Regions from separate parts of the Homo sapiens genome. Here all the other regions are linked to region 3. Evidence: promoter capture Hi-C in 16 types of primary human blood cells and fetal thymus (Javierre and others, 2016). All regions are on one chromosome and are shown on one strand. The core of a region is centred on a gene start or on the middle of the fragment in contact, and the rest is flanking DNA. Distances in the headings are between cores, read along the strand shown.

What was found. Contacts are between HindIII fragments. The CHiCAGO score rates a contact against its expected background, and 5 or more counts as called.
Region 1: a fragment that was not itself captured here is called in contact with the fragment with the promoter of SYBU in region 3 in 1 of 17 cell types (naive B cells); the score reaches 5.4 in naive B cells.
Region 2: a contact is called between a fragment that was not itself captured here and the fragment with the promoter of SYBU in region 3, in 2 of 17 cell types (total B cells and naive B cells). The highest score is 5.9, in total B cells.
Region 4: a contact is called between a fragment that was not itself captured here and the fragment with the promoter of SYBU in region 3, in 2 of 17 cell types (total B cells and naive B cells). The highest score is 8.8, in total B cells.

Annotation. Positions count from the first base shown.
Region 1 is chr8:109,497,685-109,500,594 of GRCh38, forward strand. It overlaps PKHD1L1 (PKHD1 like 1), which reads left to right. Exons shown (of 78, transcript NM_177531.6): 66 at 778-889; 67 at 971-1,087. Among named protein-coding and RNA genes, the nearest start is that of EBAG9UORF, 41 kb to the right of the region's middle. The HindIII fragment of the contact is 6,056 bases long and covers 1-2,910 here.
Region 2 is chr8:109,420,815-109,424,083 of GRCh38, forward strand. The region is part of intron 23 of PKHD1L1 (PKHD1 like 1); the gene reads left to right. Among named protein-coding and RNA genes, the nearest start is that of PKHD1L1, 60 kb to the left of the region's middle. The HindIII fragment of the contact is 4,892 bases long and covers 1-3,269 here.
Region 3 is chr8:109,643,182-109,646,286 of GRCh38, forward strand. SYBU (syntabulin) reads right to left here and starts at 1,641. Exons shown (of 7, transcript NM_001099754.2): 1 at 1,455-1,641. The coding sequence starts at 1,478. It overlaps SYBU-AS1 (SYBU antisense RNA 1), which reads left to right and starts at 948. Exons shown (of 2, transcript NR_161375.1): 1 at 948-1,041; 2 at 1,937-3,105. RefSeq lists a silencer at 1,406-1,895 and enhancers at 1,408-2,344, 2,006-2,325. The HindIII fragment of the contact is 4,274 bases long and covers 84-3,105 here.
Region 4 is chr8:109,472,312-109,475,208 of GRCh38, forward strand. It overlaps PKHD1L1 (PKHD1 like 1), which reads left to right. Exons shown (of 78, transcript NM_177531.6): 51 at 2,807-2,897. Among named protein-coding and RNA genes, the nearest start is that of EBAG9UORF, 66 kb to the right of the region's middle. The HindIII fragment of the contact is 3,166 bases long and covers 22-2,897 here.

The DNA.
Region 1 (2,910 bases), core at 300-2,799, 150 kb before region 3:
CAAAGTGCTGGGATTACAGGCGTGAGCCACCGCACCCAACAAAAAAGCTGTTCATTCTTATCTCTCCTCCTCCCTTCCCTCTTCTTGCTTATCACCTGCTAATCTTGAAATAGTTAAATTTTCACTCCCTCTATGAAGTTTTTTCTGAGCCAGTTTAGGTGGTAATGACACTTCCTCCACTTTTTTGTGCCTACTGTTCCCTGGATGTATTTATCACAGAAACATAACATGTCCTTATATGTAATTATTTACATGTCTGTCTTCCCTCTCCTATTCTTAGTGCTTTTCCAGTTGGGGTAGCAACCTTTTTCATCTTTGTTTAATGAATGATCCACTTTTTGAATTTATAGTTTGCATTTTATTTACTACAGTAGAATTTAGTACTATTCATTATCATGTTTTCTTTTTTTTTTTTTTTTTTTTTTTTTGAGACGGAGTCTCGCTCTGTCGCCCAGGCCGGACTGCGGACTGCAGTGGCGCAATCTCGGCTCACTGCAAGCTCCGCTTCCCGGGTTCACGCCATTCTCCTGCCTCAGCCTCCCGAGTAGCTGGGACTACAGGCGCCCGCCACCGCGCCCGGCTAATTTTTTGTATTTTTAGTAGAGACGGGGTTTCACCTTGTTAGCCAGGATGGTCTCGATCTCCTGACCTCATGATCCACCCGCCTCGGCCTCCCAAAGTGCTGGGATTACAGGCGTGAGCCACCGCGCCCGGCCCATGTTTTCTTTTAGTAAGAGCTATTATTAATGCTATATTGTTTGGCTTATTTCCAAACAGAGCTCATTAATTGTTGGAAGTAGCCCTGGGTTTAATTGCTCTGATGTCCTAACTAATGATGATCCTAATATTGAACTCACTGCTGCTCATCGGAGTCCTAGATCTCCATCAGGTGAAAAATTTGAAACTTTAATGTTGTTGTTCATATGAGTGCATATTCAATTTTCATTAACTTTTTCTTTTTTGGTAAAAGGTGGGAGAAGTGGGATTTGTTGGCCTACCTTTGCTTCAGCTCATAACATGGCACCCCGAAAGCCCCATGCAGGAATCATGAGTTACAATGCCATCAGTGGCCTTTTGGACATCTCAGGCAAGTACACAGTCTTTTACAAATCTTCTCAATTAATTTCTGTAAAGAATATGTAGAGGATAACTAATAATGTTTCATTGTTAGTAAAAATGATTTAAGTGAATTTTTATAGCAATCTGCTCAATATGACAAAGAAATCAGACATCAGAGTCAATTTTGAGAATGGTTTCTTGGCAGGATTCTTATACTGTATGTTGAAGAATTGATGTTAAATTTTCCTTCTAAAACAACAACAAAACACTGGCATTTGTGATTTAATATTAATTTGTATAATTTGTAAATGCCCTTTCATGTAAGTAGGATTATATATTATCATCCCTTTTTAAAATTGAAGAACCTTAAGCTCAAAGAACTTAGTGCCTGGCCAAATTCCCACAGCTATTGGCACAGCTAGGATTAGAATCAAAATCTTCTGATTCAAACTCCACTGCTCTTTCACTGAACCAGGATGGCTGCTTAGAAATGTAAAATAATTATATATAAATTAATGTAGTAAACACATCAATTATTTTCATTTGGCCTATTAAATAACACTGTGCATTTCCTGTTTTAATGGAGCAAGTGTCCCTTCCAGGATAATTTTAACCAGTGTCTCTGAAGAAAGTAGTTCAGTAAGTTAGACATCTAAGTTTTAACATATTCTTTCTCACAGCTTTAGATCCCAGAAATGTGAAACAAATTAGCAACACTTTTAAGTGTTAATTGCAATGCTCATACCCTTGGAGGAAATTGTATAACATGCTACATAGGTTGTAATTGAACATATATGGCTTTTAATAAATAATATGCTCCAGAATATTATAAATATCATGTGACAATGAAACTGCCCTTATGAAATGAAGCCTTAAGATTGAAATTTATTGAAAGAACATTAATAACTATTATTCTTTCATAAGATATAGTCTTTTAAAATAACATATAAAAGTTGGTTGACTGAGATTCACTAGAAACAGCCTTAGATGAGGACTTTCATATTAGTGGCTTCTTGGAACACCTAGTAGAAAGGGAAGGAAGAGAACAGGGCAAGGGAAGTTGCTAAGCAAGGATGTGATATGAGCTGAAGGGCAGCTATACTTGATGCCACTGGGAAACTCTAGAGTGTAAGTTAAAATTGCCACGGAGTTGATCCCACATCTGGTGAGGTGGGTAGGGGACGGAAGTCATTTGTATCCCCATGTTAGTTTTTGGTTACAGCTGCCCCTATGGGGAGGACCTTGATTTCCCGGGTATGTGGCTCCTTTTTGGCTAAGCTAATTGTCTGGGAAAAGGGAGATTTGTTAACAGCCAATATTCAAAGAGATGAGAGATGGGTGTACCAGCCTGTATCCACTTTAGTCCTCTCTTGGGACTACTGGGATCTACTTGCTTTCTTCATTGTTAGTTATATTAAGTTATATATGATTTCTCCAAGATTCTGCATGGTCACAATTTTTGGGAAAAACTTTAAGAAGAGGTTTGGTGGTCACCCTGCCATAGCTGGTCCCTAAACCATAAATGATACTCATCATCTCTCTCATCCATCACCCTTTCTAAATTTCTGTCTTCCTTGGTTAACACTTCTGCTTGTCAAGATGGCTTGCCTGGTAGAATGGCTCAGACCCTCATTCCTGTTATAAATAGGCCCCTGGTCCATGGTGGCTCATGCCTGTAATCCCAGCACTTTGGAAGGCCAAGGTGGATGAATCATGAGGTCAGGAGTTCAAGACCAGTTTGGCCAACATGGTGAAACCCCGACTCTACTAAAAATACAAAAAAAAAAAAAAAAAAACCTAGCTGGGCATAATCCCAGCTACTTGTAAGGCTGAGGCAGGAGAATTGCTTGA
Region 2 (3,269 bases), core at 700-3,199, 220 kb before region 3:
AGATTTGGAGTATGAAAATTGACTTTAAGTATTAAAAAAATTCTTACAGAAATATGTCTATGGGAAGGAAAACAGGGAGAAATATCCTTAAAAAACAAAGTCATATTTAAGTAGAGTTTTCTCTGTGGACGTAAAAGAAAAAATTATGGTCTCTTCCAATAAACATCCTGAAACAGATATTATTGAGAGAAAAATTGAGATTCTGCATTATGCTTTTTAATTGTTTTGTTATAAACACCATTTATTTTTGCTTGTATGAAAATTTATACAAGGGAAGAAAGAAGTGGTTTTTCATAATTCCAGAAGGACCTGAACAATTTTTTGTACATTTGTAATAAGATTAATATTAAATATTACAAATATAATGAAAAATTTAAAATTAAATTTCTATAAAAATATTCAATGAGTTAATATAATTTCCTACCACAAACCAAAAACAAGTATAATAAGCTCAAGATTAAAGATTAAATAATCATTAACCATTGTAATTGGATTAGAGCCTCACAGAAAATTTTTGCAAAGTAAACAATTTTATGATTAAAATTACTGAAAAATTATAAAAACTCCAAAAAAATTGCCTTTATCCCATCCTGGCCCAATGTTTTAGTCTTAATATCTTCCAGATTAGCATCTTACAAATGCTTTTCAGTGCTTTACTCTTAGCTCTATTAGAAAATATAATAACTGGCCGGGCGCGGTGGCTCACGCCTATAATACCAGCACTTTGGGAGGCCGAGACGGGCGGATCATGAGGTCAGAAGATCGAGACCATCCGGGCTAACATGGTGAAACCCCATCTCCACTAAAAAATACAAAAAAATTAGCCGGGCGTGGTGGCGGGGGCCTGTAGTCCCAGCTCCTTCCGAGGCTGAGGCAGGAGAATGGCGTGAACCCGGGAGGCGGAGCTTGCAGTGAGCGGAGATCGCGCCACTGCACTTCAGCCTCGGCGACAGAGCGAGACTCTGTCTCAAAAAAAAGAAAATATAATAACTAATTCAAGGCTCTGTATTCTCAAAGCATCTGTGTCAAAATTCTCCCATTTTTCAAGATTCCTCAATAAACTAATTGGTAACTGTAACCTCTATCTTTAATTATTCATCAAAGTTTACACTGAAGAATACAGGACTTAGATTTTTGTGACCTTTTAAAAAAATTCAAGTGATAGGTACATGTAATAAATAATATGCACATATGTTAAATGTATAGATCAATAAATTGTTTTAAGAACTTTAACTTTGACATAATTGTAGATTCACATGCAGTTGTAAGAAATAGCACAGAACTATTTTTATATCCTTTACCCATTTTCCCCCAATGATAATTTTTTTGTATAATATAGCATAATATCATAACCAGGAAATTGACATGATAAAATCCACTGACCTTATTCAGATTTTTCCAGGGTTGTGTGTGTGTGTGTGCGTGTTTGTGTAGTTCTTACACAATTTTATCATAGGTGTAGATTCATCTGACCACCACCAGAACAGTTCTATTACGAGCGTCTCTTGTGCTACCTTTTTGTAGCCATGCTGTCACAGCCATCTCCCTCGTTCCATTCCTCCTGCACTCACTTATATATGGCAACCACAAATTCATTCTCTCAATAATTTTGTCGTTTCAAGAATGCTACAAAAATGGAATCAGATGTCATATAATCACACAAATACATAGCTTTTGTATACTGGCATTTTTTTAACTCAGCATAATTCCCTTGAGATCCATTCAAATTGTGTTGATCGATTTATTCATTTTAATTGCTGAGTATATTTACTGTTATGGATGTACCAGTTTGTTTACTCACCCGTTGAAGGACATTTGAGTTGTTTCTTGGTTTTGGCTATTATGAATTAAACCGCTATGAACATTCATCTGTAGGCTTTTGTGAGACATAAGTTTCCATTTTTTCTCGGTTAAATTCCCAACAGTGCAATTATAGGGTTGTATGGTAAGAACATGTATAGTTTTTAAAGAAACTACCATATTTTTTTTCTGAAGTGGTTGTACCATTTTAGATTCCCACCAGCAGTGTACGATCCAGTTTCTGCACAATCTTGCCAGTGTTTGGTGATGTCACTATTTTTAATTTTAGGCGTTCTGGTAGGGTGTGTAACGATGGTTCATTTTCATTTTAATTGATATTTCCTAATGGCTAATGATGTTGAACATCTTTTTATGAACTTATTTGCCACCTACATATCTTCTACTGTGAAATGTCTAGGTATAATTCTTTTGTCAGATATATGGTTTGCAAATATTTTCTCCCAGACTGTACCTCACCTTTTCATCTTCTTCATAAGGTCTTTGACAGAACAAAGTTTTAAAAATTTTATGAGGCCAAATTTATCACTTTTTTTTTTCTTTTTTGAACGGTGCTTTTGGTTTCAAGTCTAAGAACTTACTTAGCTCTAGGTCCTGAGGATTTTTCTTTTTCTAAAAATCCTACAGATTTACATTTTATATTTAAGGGCATGATCCATTTTGTGTTAATTTTTACATGTAAGATGTGATTTTTCGTTGAGGTTCATTTGTTTGCCTATGCCTCCAATTGTTTCAGCAACATTATTGAAAAGGCTATCTTTCTTCCATTTAATTACATTGGAACCTTTGTCAAAAATCATATTTGTGTGGGCATATTTCTGAGTTTTCTATTCTTTCCATTGGTCTATGTGTCAGTCCTTCCACCAATACCACACATTCTTGACTATTGTATCTGAATAGTTAGACTTAACATTGAGTAGAGTGATTCTTCTTACTTTATTTTTCTTGTGCAAAATTGTTTTAGCTATTCTAGGTCCTGTGCCTTCCCATATAAATTTTAAAATAAGATTATTTATGTCTACAAAAAAACCTTGCTGGTATTTTGACAATAATTACATTAAATCTATAGACTGTTTTGGAGAGAATTGACACCATTGTGATATTGAGTCTTCCAATCCATGAACACAGTATGTCTCTCCAATTATTTGTCCTCTTCGTGCTTTACCAGCATATTTAGATCTTCATTTATTACATTTATCGGCATTTTGCAATTTTCAGTTCAGGTCTAGTACATGTTTTGTGAGATTTATAAACGTGTTTCATTTTCTTCGAGCAGTTGTAAATGGTCTTGTGTTTTTAAATTCGATTTCCACATGCTCGTTATTTGTATATAGAAATGTAATTGATTTTTGTGTCTTTATCTTGTATCTTATAACCTACTGAATTCAACACATTTTTACAAAGTAGATACACTCATGTAATCACACCCAAATGAAGATAATCATTAGCTC
Region 3 (3,105 bases), core at 391-2,890:
CCTCCACTCACTAGCTGGAAGGCCATCCTACTTCCCTATGCTGGTCCTGACTCACCTTCCCACCCTGACTTCTATCACATTCAAGCTTCTGCCTCCCAAAGGCTCTTTATTAACACCACACTCTGGCTTACTTGATAGCCTTCAGACTTCCATTTTGCTTTCCCTAAATTAGCTGTGACAGTCTGACTTGTTTTCTTGTCTCCTCACAAAGTTGAACCCTATACCTGGAACAGTTATTTCCTGATAGCTCACACACAATTATCTTTAAAATCCCTCCTCTTCTGGACAGGATCTTAATTATTCGTTAATATCCTGGTACACAAGGCTTGTTGCCAACAGAAAAGCAAACACAAATCCGATACTCGGGAAGATGGCTCCACCTTTTACATCATCTTTAATTTTTGTTTTCCTTACAGGACATCCATAAGAAGAGATTTTTCTTTCTCCTTAAAAACGCAGCATGAAGTACCCTGCCATTTCGTGGTTTTAAAAATGCGTAACAGTAATATTTTCACAATGTTTTCCAACTTATAAAGTGCTTTTCCAACCATTTTCTCATTTGATCTTTACACACCAGACTGTACATAGAGAGCACACCAATGAATGTCCCTATTTTCAGATGAGGAAACAGGCTAAATGGGGTAGAGATGCTTAGGCAATTCTGCACACCATGCCAGAAGTAGAACGAAATTCAAATCCAGTGCTTTGCAGGGTCACCACCACCCTGCCTTATGAAAATGGATTCCTAGGAGGAGCGTTTTGCAAAAATTCCACTGCTTCCTCCAACCTCTGCCACTGAAAGGGACTCTTTGGCTTAGGTAACAAACACCCTTTCGAAACATGACCTACTGTTCCTTCCACCGGCTTACCAGGAAGGGTCACGGCCAAAATAAACACCTCTGGGAGGCCGGCACATGGCATAAATTGAAGGGTAAACCTCAGCAATGGGGAACTTCGGAGGGCCCTCAGGCATCCACTCTACCCGGGGGCCGCCAGCCGCACGCAGCCTCGGATTCGCCCTGCACATCTGCCGCCCAGCAGGTACCATGCGCCAGCCACTCCGCCGGGCACACCGCAGACCCTGAGCTAAGGCAGGGTCACTGACACGCGGGAGTCCTCTTTTCCCAGTCGCGGATGCATCAAATTCCTTTCATTCACATCACACACACAGGATATCAACTGAAAGCTACACCCCACAGTCCCAGTTTCAGGAGGTGGGATTAACCCTCCAATCATGTCATTCTCCAAAATCTATTCCTCCAGTACCACCTCCCCATCTCCTGGATCTCAACTCCTAAGCAATGCCTCCTGCCTTCTCCAGACCCCACCACCACCTCCTTCCACCTTTCCCCAGACTCTAAATGTCACCCCTCCAGCTCTCATCCCGCCGCTTCTCGCCCCGCAGTGCCCGCCTTCCCCGCCCTCCAGTGCCCGCACTGCCCCGCGCTCCTTACCTTGCTCTCGCGGAGGGGCCCCATCGCGCCGCTGCCCGCCGGCTCCTCGCGCCGCCGCTGCCGCCGTCCAGGAGGAGGCACCTGCGAGCACGGAGCGAGGAGACTGCGCTGAGCCGGCGCGGGCTGCGGGCGGCGGCTCTTGGTGAGGCTCCAACGCGCCGCCGCCGCCACTGCCGCCGATTGCTCTGGGCTCCGAGGGCACGCCCGACCCCGCCCCGGCCGGACACGTGGTGCCGCACTCGCTAGAGGCAGCTCCTGGGGCGCCTCCCACGCCCTCCCTCACCTGCGGCCTTCGGGGCAACTCGACCGCGCCTGGGCGCGCCCCACCCGCCCGATTTCCCCACGGCACTCCGCGCCCCCCCAGCCAGAGCCGGTGTCCCTCCCTCTCCAAGGAGCTCGGCCCGGTGTAGGCAGGCTGCGGCTAGCGGCATCTCCAGCCCAGGGGTGACCCCACCCTCTTTTTTTTTTGCACTTGATCTCAGGTTTGAAGTGGGTGGCGTTGGATGGAGTGACTGAGAAAAGCTGCGACATCACAGAGAGACAAAATAGAGAAAGTTTTCCCCTGGCCACCCCTCCTTGGCCTCCAGGTCTTAAGTCAGCCTACAGCTCCCCACAACTGCCTCGCCCGAGAGCTGCAGAGATCCCTCTCGTACCGGAGCCCAGCCAAGCCAGTGCGTCAGGACCGACACAGCCTCTGGGTTCCGGGATCTGAAAGGCTGCGATGGATTCTACTTGGAAGGGGTTGCATCAGAAAGGCCTTCAGTGGTCAGCGCAGCTCCCTCCGGCTTGGAGAAGCCAGGCTGCTATGTAGCCAGAGAACAGTCTTTTCCCCAGCGCTGCCCTGCAGCTGCCCGGCTCCAGGAAGTAGCTCCAGCACACTGCTAAGGGAAGAGCACTGGAATTGAACTCAGAAAAACGAGTTCAAGCCAGCACTCCAATCGGTCCCTTCAGCCTGAGTGCCTTTATGCCTAAAGTTTTTGTTGTTGTTTCGTTTTTTGTTTTTTTTTTTTTCCGTTGCTGTTGAAACGGCATCTCGTTCTGTGGCCCAGGCTGTAGTACAGTGGCGCGATCAGGGCTCACTGCAACCTCTAACTCCTGGGATCAAGGGATCATCCCGTCCAGGCCTCTCAAAGTGCTCGAATTACATGCGGATGCCATTGCATGCGTGGCCTACGCCTACGGTTCTTGACCCTTCTGAACTTCAAATTTACCCTTGTTAAATTGAGGGATAATAATAGTGATACCTACCTCTAGGATAGCTGTGAGGGTTAGGTGAGGAAAACAAACAGCTCTATCCAGCTGATTGAACAGAACTTTCCAAAGGGCAGCTAAGTCAGGTCCAGATGATCCAGTCAATATTTGTTGATGCCTTTTACATGACAGGCAGAAAAAGCATTTGTGATGCACACAAATTTGTTTAAGAAAGCTCGAAAATCTGTCCAACTGGGGACTTAGAATAGGGTACATCAGCTGGGCCAAGGGCCTTGATTTATTACAATTGCTACCCTTAAATCTTATCTGGTGGTGGAATTCACCATGTATAATGACTTATATACCCTTTATTCAGAATTGGAGAATATTCCAAGCAGTGCGACACTCTGATCCTTATGCACCAGTGTCCTACATAGGAGGACTGTGCTCCTCGAAAACT
Region 4 (2,897 bases), core at 355-2,854, 170 kb before region 3:
ATCTAAGCTTTCAAATCTCTAAGCTTTCTTTTTGTGGTTATTTTTAGTGGTGGTGAGGATTTTAGAAAGGAGCTTTTGTTTGCTTATTTGTCTATATTCTGGTTTTTTGATTCAGGGAATCTGGTATTTCTGAATTTATAACATTTTAGCTTTCTTGTCACGTTTCTCTGCACCCTTTCATCTATTCCCTTCAAGAATTAAGATTTTTTATTGAGTTACTAAACTGTGAATACCTAGAGGGCCAGATCTACAAACTTATCTTTCTGACGCCGCAAGGCTCAACGCAGGACATTGCAAATAGTAACTACTCAGCAAGTGTTGAATTAAATGGAATTAGTTGCAATACTCAGACCACATTGCAAATTAGAGAAAACACTATGCTAGGCATTTTACTTCTGTGTGTGAAAAAAAAAAATCAACTGTATAGTAAAGTACATTTGGCTACTTTGATCTCCATTAAAGTCAAATAAAATTATTTACTTCTAAAAGTTAAAAACAGAAAAAGATAACTTGTCCTGATTGTATATGTATGCTGAGTGAAACAAAAGTTTAAAAAGTATACTAGATTAGTGGGAAGTAAGGGTTTGCTATAATTTTACACACGTCCATATATATCTTTATCAAAGCATCTCATGCATGATGGTATATCTTTATGTAAATATATGTATAAAGTTATACCAGATGGCAAATTAATTTGAGACACTAACTCTTAATGATCCTATTTTTAGAAAATATCAACTTCAAAGAGTTTATATTTCAGTCCAAGACACTTAAAACCAACATACTTGAAATGAGTGCAGCTTAAAAAATTAGGAAAAACACAACTTAAAAAAATGGAAATTTGTTTCACTTGTGAAACTGAATTATTAAGAAATGTCAGGTTAAATGCAATCCCAAGCATCAGAAAACTTCACTGGAGGCTGGGTGCGGTGGCTCATGCCTGTAATCCTAGCCCTTTGGGGGGCAAAGGTGGGCAGATCACTTGAGGTCAAGAGTTCGAAAGCAGCCTGGCCAACATAGGTGAAACCCTGCCTCTACTAAAACTACCAGAAAAATTAGCCAGGTGTGGTGGCACATGCCTGTAATCCCAGCTACTTGGGAGGTTGAGGCAGGAGAATTGCTTGAATCCAGGAGGCAGAGTTTGCAGTGAGCCGAGATCATACCACTGGACTCCAGCCTGGGTGACAGTTAGAGACTCCATCTCAAGAAAAAAAAAAAAGAAAAGAAAAAGAAAGAAAAGAACTCAATTCAGTGGAATTCCACTTAATTGAGTTCTGCAAATCCAGGAGCAAATTCTAGAGGTTTTGGATGATTTTAATCAGCTCTTCTATGTTAACCATTGCTTCACAACAGACTATCTCAAAACTCAATAGCTTAAGCCTACAATCATTTATTCTTAGGTGTCCACAGGCTAGGTTGATTGATCTAGGCTGGGCTCTGCTGGAAGTCTCTGCTTCAATATAAGGCTTTGCTTCTCCCCAAGGGCTGAGCTCAGGTAACTCCACATGTACTCGTTCCAGGTGTCAGGCAAAGGGAGAGCAGTTACCTGGAGGAGGCTCTTCTCTTTGTGAAGATAGAGGCTTAAGAAGTCAAACCTCACTGAGCAAGCACTTTTCAAGCATTTACTAGTGTCAGTTCCACTAATGTCCCATTGGCCAAGATCAATGAAGCAGGGAAGTCTACTTTGCCCTCAAGGAGAAGAAAGGAGTGGATATTTGCTGAACAATAATCCAACTAGTCACAGTTCTTTTCATACTTTACGGGATTTTCTGGTAGTGAAAGTTTTTGGTGTCTCTGGTCATGAATCTTTTAAAATTAATACTAACTCATAAAGCATAGAAAATCATGAATTTTTTCTCTCATGGCTTTGGAATTTTGTTGGGCCTTATTTCAGACAGATTATTTTATAATCTTGCTTCTAGCTTCTTCCTCCTAAATTTTTAAAATAAGAGGTTGTTACTTTAATATAAAATCCAATCTGAGATGAAAAGTAAAGGAAGGGGGAGAAAAATAGAGGCAGTTAATGAAAGACCTTTCCTTTATATTGTAAGAGAACTTTTCAAATCTTCTATTAAAGCTATCAGGCATTCTCTTGTGACCAAAGCATTACTAAATTATATAGTTTTTCCTGTAACAGGTAGTTCAGGTTCAAGGTTTGTATTCCTAAAATGTATATATCTTCATCAGTGTTAAGTTATAGGTCTAGTTGTAGCCTTGTTCTTTAATAATTCTAAATCAAAACACCATTAAAGTCAAACAAAATTATTTACTAGTAAACATTAATATGTGTTGTACAGATTTTAATTAGCTCAACAGACATAGAAAACTCTAATAAAGAATCAGAGCTTATGTTTTTATATATTCTACATCAAGGATTCTGAATAACTAAGTTCTTAAAGAATAAAAATGAAATTATGTTTAGATCAATGACCTTTAAATAATTATATTAATATATTTAGGCACTTTCGTTTTAGCAGTTGTAATTTCACAATGTTTCAAGTGTATCTTTCCCTAAGGAATAAAGGCTCCATCTCAATTCAAAATTCCAGGTTTGAAAGCATTTTACTTTCCAGTTAAATATAATATTAATCATTTCAGTTCTTCAGTCAAACGAAGACATTTAGAACATAAGTAATGAAATGCCATATTAATCTTTTTAAAGACTGTCATAGACTAAACCAATATTTGCTAAACCAACATTTGCTAAACCAACCAAACTAAACTAACTTTTGCACTTGTTTACAAAAGGAGGAGTTTATTAGAGGTAGAGATTACTATTATTTTCTTGTTCTATGTTCTCCTATAGGCACAAGCATTATTCCATTTCAGAAGAAACGACTGACTCATATGTCTGGATGGATGGCTCTGATTCCAAATGCAAATCACATTAACTGGTA